Regions from separate parts of the Homo sapiens genome. Here regions 1 and 3 are each linked to region 2. Evidence: promoter capture Hi-C in human tissues and cell types (Jung and others, 2019). All regions are on one chromosome and are shown on one strand. The core of a region is centred on a gene start or on the middle of the fragment in contact, and the rest is flanking DNA. Distances in the headings are between cores, read along the strand shown. Region 1 overlaps TOM1L2 (target of myb1 like 2 membrane trafficking protein). Region 2 holds the start of MYO15A (myosin XVA). Region 3 overlaps TOM1L2 (target of myb1 like 2 membrane trafficking protein).

Region 1 (3,611 bases), core at 142-2,641, 250 kb before region 2:
CCAGCTTTTGTCCACTTAGCAGAAACAGACTAGATGTCCTGAGCTTTCCAATGTGTTGCAAAAGCTACAACAAAGACATTAAGGGGTCAGGGGCCTTAAACCTTCAGATTTTTCTTGTAATTGTTTTGTTGCTGCTAAAGAACAAATCCCTTGAGGCCTGGGGTCATACTTTAATTTTCTTCTTTGGGGATAAATCTTGAGAGCCAACATGCTCAGAAAATAAACAATGACACTTAAGAAATTCCTCACCTCCTCAAAAATAACTTCCCAAAAGCTGGCTCATGGGAACCCTTTTCTTCCATGTCCTAGATTTTTCCAAATAAGTAGTATGTTTATGGAATGGCATCCTCCAGACCAAGCCCTAGAGGGCACGCTGAGGAGAGTGCACTGGGTGGGGTCCATCTGGGCCCTCACACTCACTGGTGGCAGGACCTGGGGTGAGTCGCTCCTCTCTGGACCCCACTTTCTTCACCGGAGAGCTCCTGAGTTTCTTCTATCCTAAGAAGCCTTAGAGATTTGGGTGGAGAGGCAGGAGCAGGGGACAGAGGCCTGAGCAATGCTTGGCCTCAATTTCCTCATCTGTGAAATAAGGCGATTGCTAGATTGTATTTGGCTTTCAATTCTTATGACTCAGAAACCTTAACTTTCAGGTTGGTGCTTCTGTTTTCTAATTCAGAAACCCAGGGATGTCAGAAATTATGGAAACTGACTCATTACAATATAGAAGCCACTTGGCCTCAGGGCGTGAACCATGGTGGAGCAGGGTGATGGTTAACAGTTAAGCTTATATAACGTAAGCTTAAATTGACTTTCTTGTGGCCAGACACAAAACCTTAGCTATCTAAACCTCTTGTCCTGGTAAATAAATGCCTTGAGTATTATAACAGGGCAAAGTTCCTTCTAATAATGTAGGTGCTATCAGACTCAGACTAAACATGTACACTGCTTGGAAAATATGAACCAAAGAAACTGTGGGAGGCCGAGGACGCGCTCCTTGTCAGGCTGATGGGAGGGAAGTGGGGCCCTGGTTGGAGCAGGGGGCACTGCGCTGAGTCTTAGGGGACTCTGTTTCTTCCCTGCAGCTTTGGGCAAGACACCAGGCCCTTAGGAGGCCTCGGTATCCTCATCTGTCAGACTAGGGGCTGGCCCAGCAGATTCCTAAGAAGGCTGTTGGCTCTGATGTGTCATAGTTTTATTTTTATTTTTATTTATTTATTTAGTTATTTATTTAATTAATTAATTTATTTAGAGACAGAGTCTTGCTCTGTTGCCCAGGCTGGTGTGCAGTGGTGCGATCTCAGCTCACTGCGACCTCTGCTTCCCAGGTTCAGATAATCCTTGTGCCTCAGCCTCCTGAGTAGCTGGGATTACAGGCGTGAGCCACCACACCTGCCTAATTTTTTTTTTTTTTGTATTTTTAGTAGAGACAGGGTTTTGCCATGTTGGCCAGGCTGATCTCAAACTCCTGGCCTCAAATGATCTGCCCAGCTTGGCCTCCCAAAGTGCTGGGATTACAGATGTGAGCCACTGCACCCAGCCTGACATGCCATAGTTTCAGCATTTTCTTGGGCAATGATCCAAGCTGAAGGCTGGTCTGAGGGATCTGAAGAAGCGTATGAGTTGGAAGAGAGGGACAGAAAGGAAGAAGACATGTGAAGAGAGAAAAGGAAGGAAGCTAGCAGAGGAATGCCCTCCAATAGAGACTGCTGCCTGAAGCTCAGCCCCTCTGAAGATAGGTAGGCCAGGCTGGCTTGGCTGAGGCAGTGGTTAGACCAGCCCTGCCCATTTTCAAAGTCCACAGACATCTTGGATGTCAGAAGCCACAGGTTTTGATCTGAGTGGCAGGTGAGCCATCCTGCTGTCAGCTGATTCTCACTTGGAACTGCAGGCAGGGGCAGCTCTGCCTCAGGGATCAGGAGGGAGGGTTGCCTGCCCAAGGGGGAGAGGCATGTCTGTCTGGTACTCCAGGGGTTAGGATTATCCTTCCAGAGTAAGAGCCTTGGGGGCCTCCAGGTCTGAGGAGGGAGTCCCGCCCTCCAAACCCAAGCCTGGGTTTTGGCAGCAGCATTCTTTACTAACCTACCTCTGTTCTTGTTTTGACTTAGATTCTCTCACATGAGGATATTTTCCTGGCTGCACCCTGCAAAAGGGAGACACCCCTAGCTGATCACCAGCCAAGAGAGGCAAAAAGACCTCACACTAGAGAGGCCAGGGAGGGAGAGCACAAGCCTAGCAGTCTCCCTGAGAGCCGCCCGGCCCTAGCCCATTGACAAGTCTCATTTCTCTTCAACCAGTAATAAGCCTGGTGGTGTCAGTTAACTTCTGTGTTGGCTATCCACACACCTGAGTCCCAGGAGCATAAGGGTTCCAACAGATGCTCCTCTGCAGCTTCCCACAGCCCCATGCCCACAAGGAAACCCACCTGTCCAGTTTTCAATGTAACAAGAACAATTTCTGTAGCTCAGGTGTACTATTTCCAGAGAAGCTGTGAATCCCTTCCTATGTCACTTCAAGCACCACCCCACTGGGACCAAGTCTAAAAGCCTTTGATCTCACTCAATAGTACAAAAAGTTTCCAAGTAAAGAATTTGTACTCAGGAGGCTTGAAAAGACTCAAGGTTTCTACACTATGGGAAATAAGGCAAAGCAATTAATATTTGTTGTAAAGAAAAAAAAAAAAACAAACTGCAGTCAGTCAGGCAAGACACCAGGTTAGCTGTTAGTTAGGTTTGTTTCTGGGAAGTTAGAGACTGGAGCTCTACGTGGGACCTGGCAGTGGCGAGGCAGTCTGTGTGGGCAGAGACAGGCACCACCACCAGCTGCCAAGGCCACCCTCAGGGGAGTTTGTGTGGGCAGTATCCTTTTTTGCAGGATTAATAGGCACAAGGGCATGTGGGCTGGATCTTCCCAATGAATGGACATGGTTTCCAGAAGCCCTGCTGCAAAGGCCCCTGACATGTGGGCCAGAGGCCAGCCTGTCCCTGAAGAAGCAAATGAGAGGCCTGGGCCAGCACATCTCTCTAAGAATGGGCTTGGGGTCTAGTGGAGGAACTGCCTTCTCACGCAGAGCAGCAGTATGCTGCTACTATGAGAGGTGGCAGGAGACCTGCCCAGGCTGACAGCAGAGCTGTGCAGAGGGCACCAGCCCAAGCTGGGTGGCAGGCAGATGCCCCTTGCTCCCACGGCTCTGGGTGATCCTGCATGGCCCAAGTTCCTACTCACTGGTCACGCTTTGCTCAAGCAGGTGGACCCTGTGCTGCTTGCAGTCTAGGACCTGCTGGCCTTTCCTCTGGCCACAGCCTAGCATAGCACACTATGGGCAGTTATGTATTCCTCTCACCCCACCCCACCTGGAGGGAGAGGCACATGTTTGCACTGCTTTCATCATCTTTCCTTCTCTGCATTCTCTCCAGCTCAGGCTCCATCACATGTACCACAGCTTTGGGCTCTGCTAGAGGTGAAATGGTCATCCCAAGACATACAGCCTGAGATGAGCTGACCCTCTCTCCATGCACCAGGCTCAGGCCACCTGAACAGACAAGGCAGGAGAGACCCTTGCAGGTCTGTGGGCCAGGAAAGCTCTGCTACATGAGAACCAACTGTGTTTACAA
Region 2 (3,609 bases), core at 153-2,652:
TCCCTCAAGTCTCTGCTATTTACAGAAGTTTCTTCAGTAGGCAGACGAAGAGTGTGTTGGGGCAAAGGGGCTCGGTTGGAGGCATTTCCCATAAGACTGAGCCCTCTCATGGGGGTTTTGAGTTTGTAGTGCTGAGCCTGCATCTGTGCCTCCCAGCCCCCTGCACTGAGGGAGCAAGTTGCCCACATGCCCGCCAGCCAGGGCCTAAAGCAGATGGCATGCTCAGTGCCAGGCTGGTAGCTGGGCCTGTTTGGGTCCCTGGAGGCTGTGGCTGCTGTCATGGCACCTCACTCCCTCAGCTCTTGCCAGCTTCTCTGACACTTGGGTTGGGGGCCCTTCCAGGAGGAAACCCCCTTGGGTGCCCCACACAGGGCTCTCCATGATGGGAACCAGTGGTTAGTGGCTTCAAAGGCCCAGCTGACACCCTCCACAGCCTAAGGGGTGTCCTAAAGTGCCTCCCCCTGTATTCCCCCTCCCAGGGCAGCCCCTGCCCAGCACAAAACCCCAGGACCCTGGCTCTGCACGCCTGGGGCAGGGACTTTTGAGTTTAGGATCTGTATTTTCTAAGTCCCCAGTTCTCCTGGCTCTCCTTTCTGAAATAAAGGATTGAAAACGGTTCCTGTTCAGACTGAGAACACTTTGTAAACTTGCTGAACAGTAGCCAGGTTGAGTCAGGTGGGCACAGGTCAGACATTGGGCCTGGGGGTCGGAGAGGGTGCAGCCTGGGCCCCAAGGCAGACCCAGGCCTTGTGTGGCAAGGAGACTGCAGGGTTCCTCACCCAGGCACAGGCAGGCTCTGCCCAGGGGGTTGGTGTTCGGGGGTGTCAGGCCCAGACTGGCCCCTCCGGAGGGGCCTGGCTGCCAAGGTGGGCAGCATCCCAGGAGGCCCTTGTGACCATCTGGGCTGGCAGGGAGGCTCTGTGAGAACAAGGTGGCGGGTCATTTCCTGTTGCCTCAGAAGTCAGGAGTAGAGGGGCTGGCAGGGGCTCGATGAGTGCCTACCGTGTGCCAGGGACTGTGCCAGGCCCCCCACAGTGTTCTGCTGTCCCCCAGAAGCTGGTGTAGGCTGCACAGTTTGTGAGTGCAGACCCCGGATTTAAGACCTCTGAGCAGCGGGGAAGGCTTCCTGGAGGAGGTATGCCTTTTGAGATGGATGCAGCAGGTTCTGTGAGGCTGCCAGGAGGGGTAGAGTTCCCGGGGGCCTCGGGCCCCGCTGGAGTGTGGAGCAGGCCCATGCTCAGCTCTCCAGGCTGTTCGTGGCTCCCCTGTCAGCTGCTCACTCCTTTCCAGAGACAAAACAGGAATAATAGACATCATTAAATATACATAGGGCCCCAGGCGGTCGGCGTGGTGGGCTGGGCCTCCCTTCCCCATAACACTGAGCTGCTCTGCTGGGCCAACCGTGCTCCTGGGCCAGCCAGAGGACCCCCATGAGGCGGCATGCAGGCGGGGAGCAGGCCACAGAACGCAGGTAAGGAGACCTTAGCCTAGAGTCCTTGGGGTCTGTCACTGGCCACCCTCGCATCCCAGGCTGCAGGGGTGATAAGGGAAGGGGCAGCAGCAGAGCTGGGGCCTCGCCCCTAACTCATCTTGAGGCCCTTCTCTGCCTCACTTTGTTCATCTGTGAGGGGTGTGATGCCCATGCAGTCCCCTCCTGGCGATGGTGGGATACCAAGACAGGCAGGGCCTCTGTGGCTTACCTCGGCCCCTCTCCTGACTGTCCTGATGCCTGGCCATGAGGCCCTAAGTGAGGGTTTCTGCCTGGCTGGTGGCCATTCCCACTTCCACTTTACAGGTAGGGGCTCTGGGCCCAGGGTGAGGTAGGGAAGGCCTTGAGTTCACAGGGTGTCAGGGTGAGTCCAGACCTTGGATTAGATCCAGACCTGTTTTGTCCCCAAGGCTGGCTGGCAAAGGGTGGGAAATGAGGCCAGAGGCTGGGGGTCCTCAGGCAGTGAGGGCTCAGGTGAGAGGCTCCAGCCACTGGGCCACAAGTTCCTCACCGTGGATGGGCTTGTTCCTGGGCTAGATCTGTGTGCGCGTGGATCAGGGCAGGCACTGCGGCTCTGTTATGTCCTGGGCTTTCTGGATCTGTGGTCAGGATGGTTGCGCAGTCTACATTTGCTTGTGAGAGAGCGAGCAAGGGATCCTGCAGCTGCGTATGCCCAGGTCAGTGTGAAGTGGCAGCTTGCGGTGCCTTTAGGGCTGGGGAAGCTCCCTAAGACCCCCCAAAGGTCTCTGACCCTCCCATCCCCGCACCTGGGTAAGCTCCAGGCTTGGGCCTCACCCTGTCAGCCACCTTGTTCTCATCACCCTCCCTGATGATCACAGGCAGGGGTCTGCACCCTCACTCAGGCCCATGCCCAGGCAGCAGAGTTGCATTCATCTCCCAGCTGGCATCCCTGCAGCCTCCCGGGGGTAGTATGGCCTGCAGCTTTAGAAGACTCAGGTACATAGGAGCCAAAGACATGAATATTCATCTATCTGTCCCACACGTGTGCGTTCACTCATTCTCCGTCTTTCTTCCTCTCCAGCTTAGATTCCACAGTTTCTCATTTCGGAACCCTCCTTTGGCAAGAAAGCCGAGTCGAGACCCTCTCCTTCCCACTCTGTCCCTCTCCTAGACAGCTCACCTGACCTCCAGCTTCCATCTCGCCAGACCTGGGTCCGAGCAGCCTTTTTGACTCTCCACTGCACTGTCCTGTAGCCATCCCAAGCCCACCGTGTCCCAGACCAAACATGGCGTTCCCATACCCCCGGCCTCACCTCAGAGACACTCCCCGCACCCCCCAGCTGCACCAAGCCAACCCCAAGACTACTTGTCTCCACCCTCATCCCAGCCCCATCTAGCCTCTCACCAGGGCCAGCCTGTTTCACCTCATCCTGAATGTGTCCGCTGTACACCATCACAGCATGCTCCCAGCTGTGTCATTGTCCCCTCTCCATTCTTTTCCACATGGCAGCCCGAGCTTCTTTTTATAATATTTTCTAAGAAGCCATGTGAGGCAGTGGTTGAGACTGTGGACACTCTGAAGCCAGACTGCCCAGGCTTAACTCCACCTTCAAGCTGTGTCACTCACATAACCTCTCTGGGCCCATGTCCTCATCTGTAAAGTGGGAAGAGTAACCACACCGACTTCAGGAGGTTGTAGTGAGAGTTGAGGTCTGTGTGGCCTGGCCGTTCTGAGCACAGGTCTTGCAGTCAGGGACACAGGCCCCATGGCTTCCTCACTGTGGGCTCTCGGCTGAGGGATCTAACCTCTCTAAGATCAAGCCCTTCATCTATGTGAGAATCTAGTGAGATATTCCAGAAAAGCATTTAGTACCAAGCCTGGCACATAGTAAACATCTGGAAATGCGAAACAGTGACCAAAGTCCCATCCCTTTCACGGCCATTGGGCTAGTCCCTGCCTGCCACCCTGGCCACCTCTCATTTCACATGCCCTCAATCACTCTGCTCCAGCCATAGGACTGTCCTTGAAGCCCCTCTTACCACCTGACCTTTGCACATGCTGTTCCACTTGCCAGGAATACTGTTCCTTCTTCCATGTTATAAGCTCCCTCTTATCCTTCAGATCTTGGCTCAGGGTTGCGTTGTCAGCAGAATCTTCC
Region 3 (3,202 bases), core at 252-2,751, 220 kb before region 2:
TGAAAGCTTCTACTGGTGGAGTTGGGAACCGGCAACAAATTGAGCAGAAAGGAAAGGAGAAATTGATGTGTGACATGAAGTAAAGGCTAACTACAGGTTTCCTCAGATCAGAGACAACTAATGCTGAGCTTGTCTAGCCTAGCTCTGTCTAGCGCTGCTGCCAGTAGGTGAGATGACTGTGGTTCAAGGGAAGAAGAGCCCATTGGGAGCTAGACCCAGGCCAGACTGGGGAGTTCACCCCCAGGGGTCCTTTTCCCAGACCCAAGCTTCTTTCATGATGTCCGCTGCCAAAAATGTCAGCACATGTGTGCCCAAATCGAAAAATCCCAAGAAAAGCACAATCACCAGATTCCCTTCAGTGAAAACATATCACAGAGAGGAAAGAGCAAAAATTCAAGTAGATTATCATTTCTGTTGACTCATGAAACTTAAAAATTAAAAAAAAAATTCTGGGCTGGGTGCGGTGGCTCATGCCTGTAATCCCAGCACTTTGAGAGGCCGAGGCGGACGGATCACGAGGTCAGGAGATCAAGACCATCCTGGCTAACACAGTGAAACCCCATCTCTACTAAAAATACAAAAAAATTAGCTGGGCGTGGTGGCGGGTGCCTGTAGTCCCAGCTACTCAGGAGGCTGAGGCAGGAGAATGGTGTGAATCCGGGAGGCAGAGCTTGCAGTGAGCTGAGATGGCGCCACTGCACTCCAGCATGGGCGACAGAGCAAGACTCCGTCTCAAAAAAAAAAAAAAAAAAAAAAAAATTCTGTTCTTTGGAAGTCTTGGACTGTATCAAAAACAGAATACTCAAAGGCCTTCCCAGAAATGGCCCTTCTCATGCTGTCCCATTCACCATACATACCCAAAGGAGGAGGCAGAGCCTCCTGTGCCCATGACTCCATTGCCAAGTCTGTCATTGTCACAGAATTTAACTGTCTCCCTCACTCCAGCAATGTGGTACAACCAATCCTGAGGCAGCCACAGAAACTCTGTCTCTAACCAACAGACCCATTTGAAGTTAAAAGGTCAGTTTCCAAAAAGCCTCCTTAATTATGACTGATGCATCTCACCAGGAACAGTACTGTCAGCCCGGCTTTCCCTGATGCACTTATTTAATTTGCATGCTCAGGGATTTAAAACTACTGGATCAGGACAGCCCCTCTTGGCCAACACTCCTTCTGGATTCTGAGGAGGGCCAAAGAAAGTGCCTCACAGAGCACTGTCTGGAAGGCCCAGCTGGAGGAGAGTAGGTTGCCCGTAGGGAGTGCCTCTGGCCCCGCCCCCACCAGCTGCGCTGGCTGCCTCCACCTGGTTCAAAATCCAGCTAAGTCCTGTGACGCCAACCTCAAAATGCCCTAGCATTTTAGTTTAGGGTGTTGACTTTAGGGTCTAAAAACCAGTTTCACAGCCCACTGTCGGAGGCTGGGGAAAAAACACATGGCAGTTCTTCCTGGCACCACTTCATGCCTTTGTACATGGAGTACCAACAGCTCCAGGGATTCCTTTCAATTCATCTAGCTCTCTACCCAAGCCAAATTTGAGATAATAGGAATAAAGATGAAAGAACTATGGCTCTTCTCTCCAGTTGGAGGATACTTCTTCGGGTCCACTTTCTAAGGCACTCTGCTTCCATGTTCACAGAGACAGACTGGAGTGGGAGGGAAATGCACACCCAAGTTGGGCCAATCAGATGCTCCTCCTTCCAGGAACTCAGCAGCACTAGAAGCTGGGATGTTCTCACTGGGTAGGCAGAACTGTCCTCTGTAACTCCAGGGCCATGTGCCAGCACAGGACTGGAAGCAGAGACAGCCTATGTTCTCCAGAAGGAGCAGCTAGAGTGCTCGGAGGTGCAGGCGTACAGGAGAGGATTTGGAAGGCCTTCCTGATATTTTCTGTCCCTTCCCAGGGCGGGGTGACCTGGACTTCTGGGAGACTCTGCCCTGTCATGACAAACTCTTCTCTTTGCCTAGGCAAGCTGGAGTTGGCATCTGTTATTTGCGATCAAGTAGTCTTGGCTAATCTACCCGCTTCCTACCTGCCACAATTCCAACCCTTATCTGGGACCTCTGTGCAGACTGGATGAGATGGCTGCTAACAGAGCAGATATTCATGATGGCAATCTCTATTGAATAGGATTCTCATGCCAACAGAGGAAAAAATGGGGTGCAGGGGCGCCTCTGAATAAATGCAGCTCTGGGTGTCTCTCATCTCTGGGTGTCTCCCATTCATATGTGAAAACGTACAGATGGGAGACATCCAGAGATGCCATGTGTCCCTAGCATCTTCTTGGGACATGCCTCAATAATTGGGCATGGGTCAGAGCTGTCCCCCAGGCTGGAGTACAATGGTGGTGCCATCTCAGCTCACTGCAACCTCTGCCTCCGGGCTCAAGCAATCCTCCCACTTTAGCCTCCAGAGTAGCTGGGACTATAAGCATGTGCCACCATACCTGGCTAATTTTTGTATTTTTTGTAGAAATGGGGTTTCATCATGTGGCCTAGGCTGGTCTTGAACTCCTGGACTCAAGGGATTCACCCACCTTGGCTTCCCAAAGTGCTGGGATTACAGACATGAGCCAACTGCGCCCAGCCCAGACACCTTTTGAAGGCAGACACCGAGTCTCTCACCCGTGTACAGAGAAGGCAGTCAGTCAACATTTATCAGGTTAAACTGAATTCAGTTCTCACAGTTACTAAGCATCCTTATTTTCCTACTTCAGAGAACAGAGGAAAGATGGCCACTTAGGCTGTCAACAGACTGAAGTGACAGTGACAAAGGAGGGGTGCTGGAAGGCTGACCCAGCTGAGAATACTCCCTAGAGAAGATGTGGCAAGCCTCAGGAGGTCTGGCCACTCTTGGAGTGCTTAACCTGAAGCCTGAGAGCAGCACTGAGGGTGGGGGAGGCTGCCCCCTCTTAAAGCTGCCTTTTCAGAAAGCAAAGTGATGCAGCGGTGTGAGCACACTCTGAGGGCCTGTCACAGGAGCTAGCTGGTTAATGGCCAAGTGGTCAGTTCACTGGAAGCCTTCTTTTCCTGCCTGTGGCTACAAGATTAGGGGCTTGGAAGACCCAGAGGAAGGTCTAATGAGGAGAAAAAAGGAAAGAGATCAATTCAGATCTCCTTCATTCCTTTGGACCGTATACAAAACCCCAGAATAAAACCAGAAACAAACATAAACCATAACCTATTCATTTCTGTATCCCTGAAA

The links. Contacts are between HindIII fragments. The study calls those that stand out against the background at their distance.
Region 1: a fragment that was not itself captured here is called in contact with the fragment with the promoter of MYO15A in region 2 in 2 of the 25 tissues and cell types used here (dorsolateral prefrontal cortex and mesendoderm cells).
Region 3: a fragment that was not itself captured here is called in contact with the fragment with the promoter of MYO15A in region 2 in 2 of the 25 tissues and cell types used here (dorsolateral prefrontal cortex and spleen).

What each region holds. Positions count from the first base shown.
Region 1 is chr17:17,853,295-17,856,905 of GRCh38, forward strand. The region is part of intron 12 of TOM1L2 (target of myb1 like 2 membrane trafficking protein); the gene reads right to left. Among named protein-coding and RNA genes, the nearest start is that of SREBF1, 18 kb to the left of the region's middle. The HindIII fragment of the contact is 7,112 bases long and covers 1-3,611 here.
Region 2 is chr17:18,107,354-18,110,962 of GRCh38, forward strand. It overlaps MYO15A (myosin XVA), which reads left to right and starts at 1,403. Exons shown (of 66, transcript NM_016239.4): 1 at 1,403-1,471. DRG2 (developmentally regulated GTP binding protein 2) reads left to right here. Exons shown (of 13, transcript NM_001388.5): 13 at 1-616. LOC105371566 (a long non-coding RNA gene) reads right to left here. Exons shown (of 3, transcript NR_164159.1): 2 at 3,499-3,609; 3 at 338-1,282. RefSeq lists an enhancer at 1-346. The HindIII fragment of the contact is 16,274 bases long and covers 1-3,609 here.
Region 3 is chr17:17,885,191-17,888,392 of GRCh38, forward strand. The region is part of intron 4 of TOM1L2 (target of myb1 like 2 membrane trafficking protein); the gene reads right to left. Among named protein-coding and RNA genes, the nearest start is that of SREBF1, 50 kb to the left of the region's middle. RefSeq lists an enhancer at 1-390. The HindIII fragment of the contact is 4,674 bases long and covers 1-3,202 here.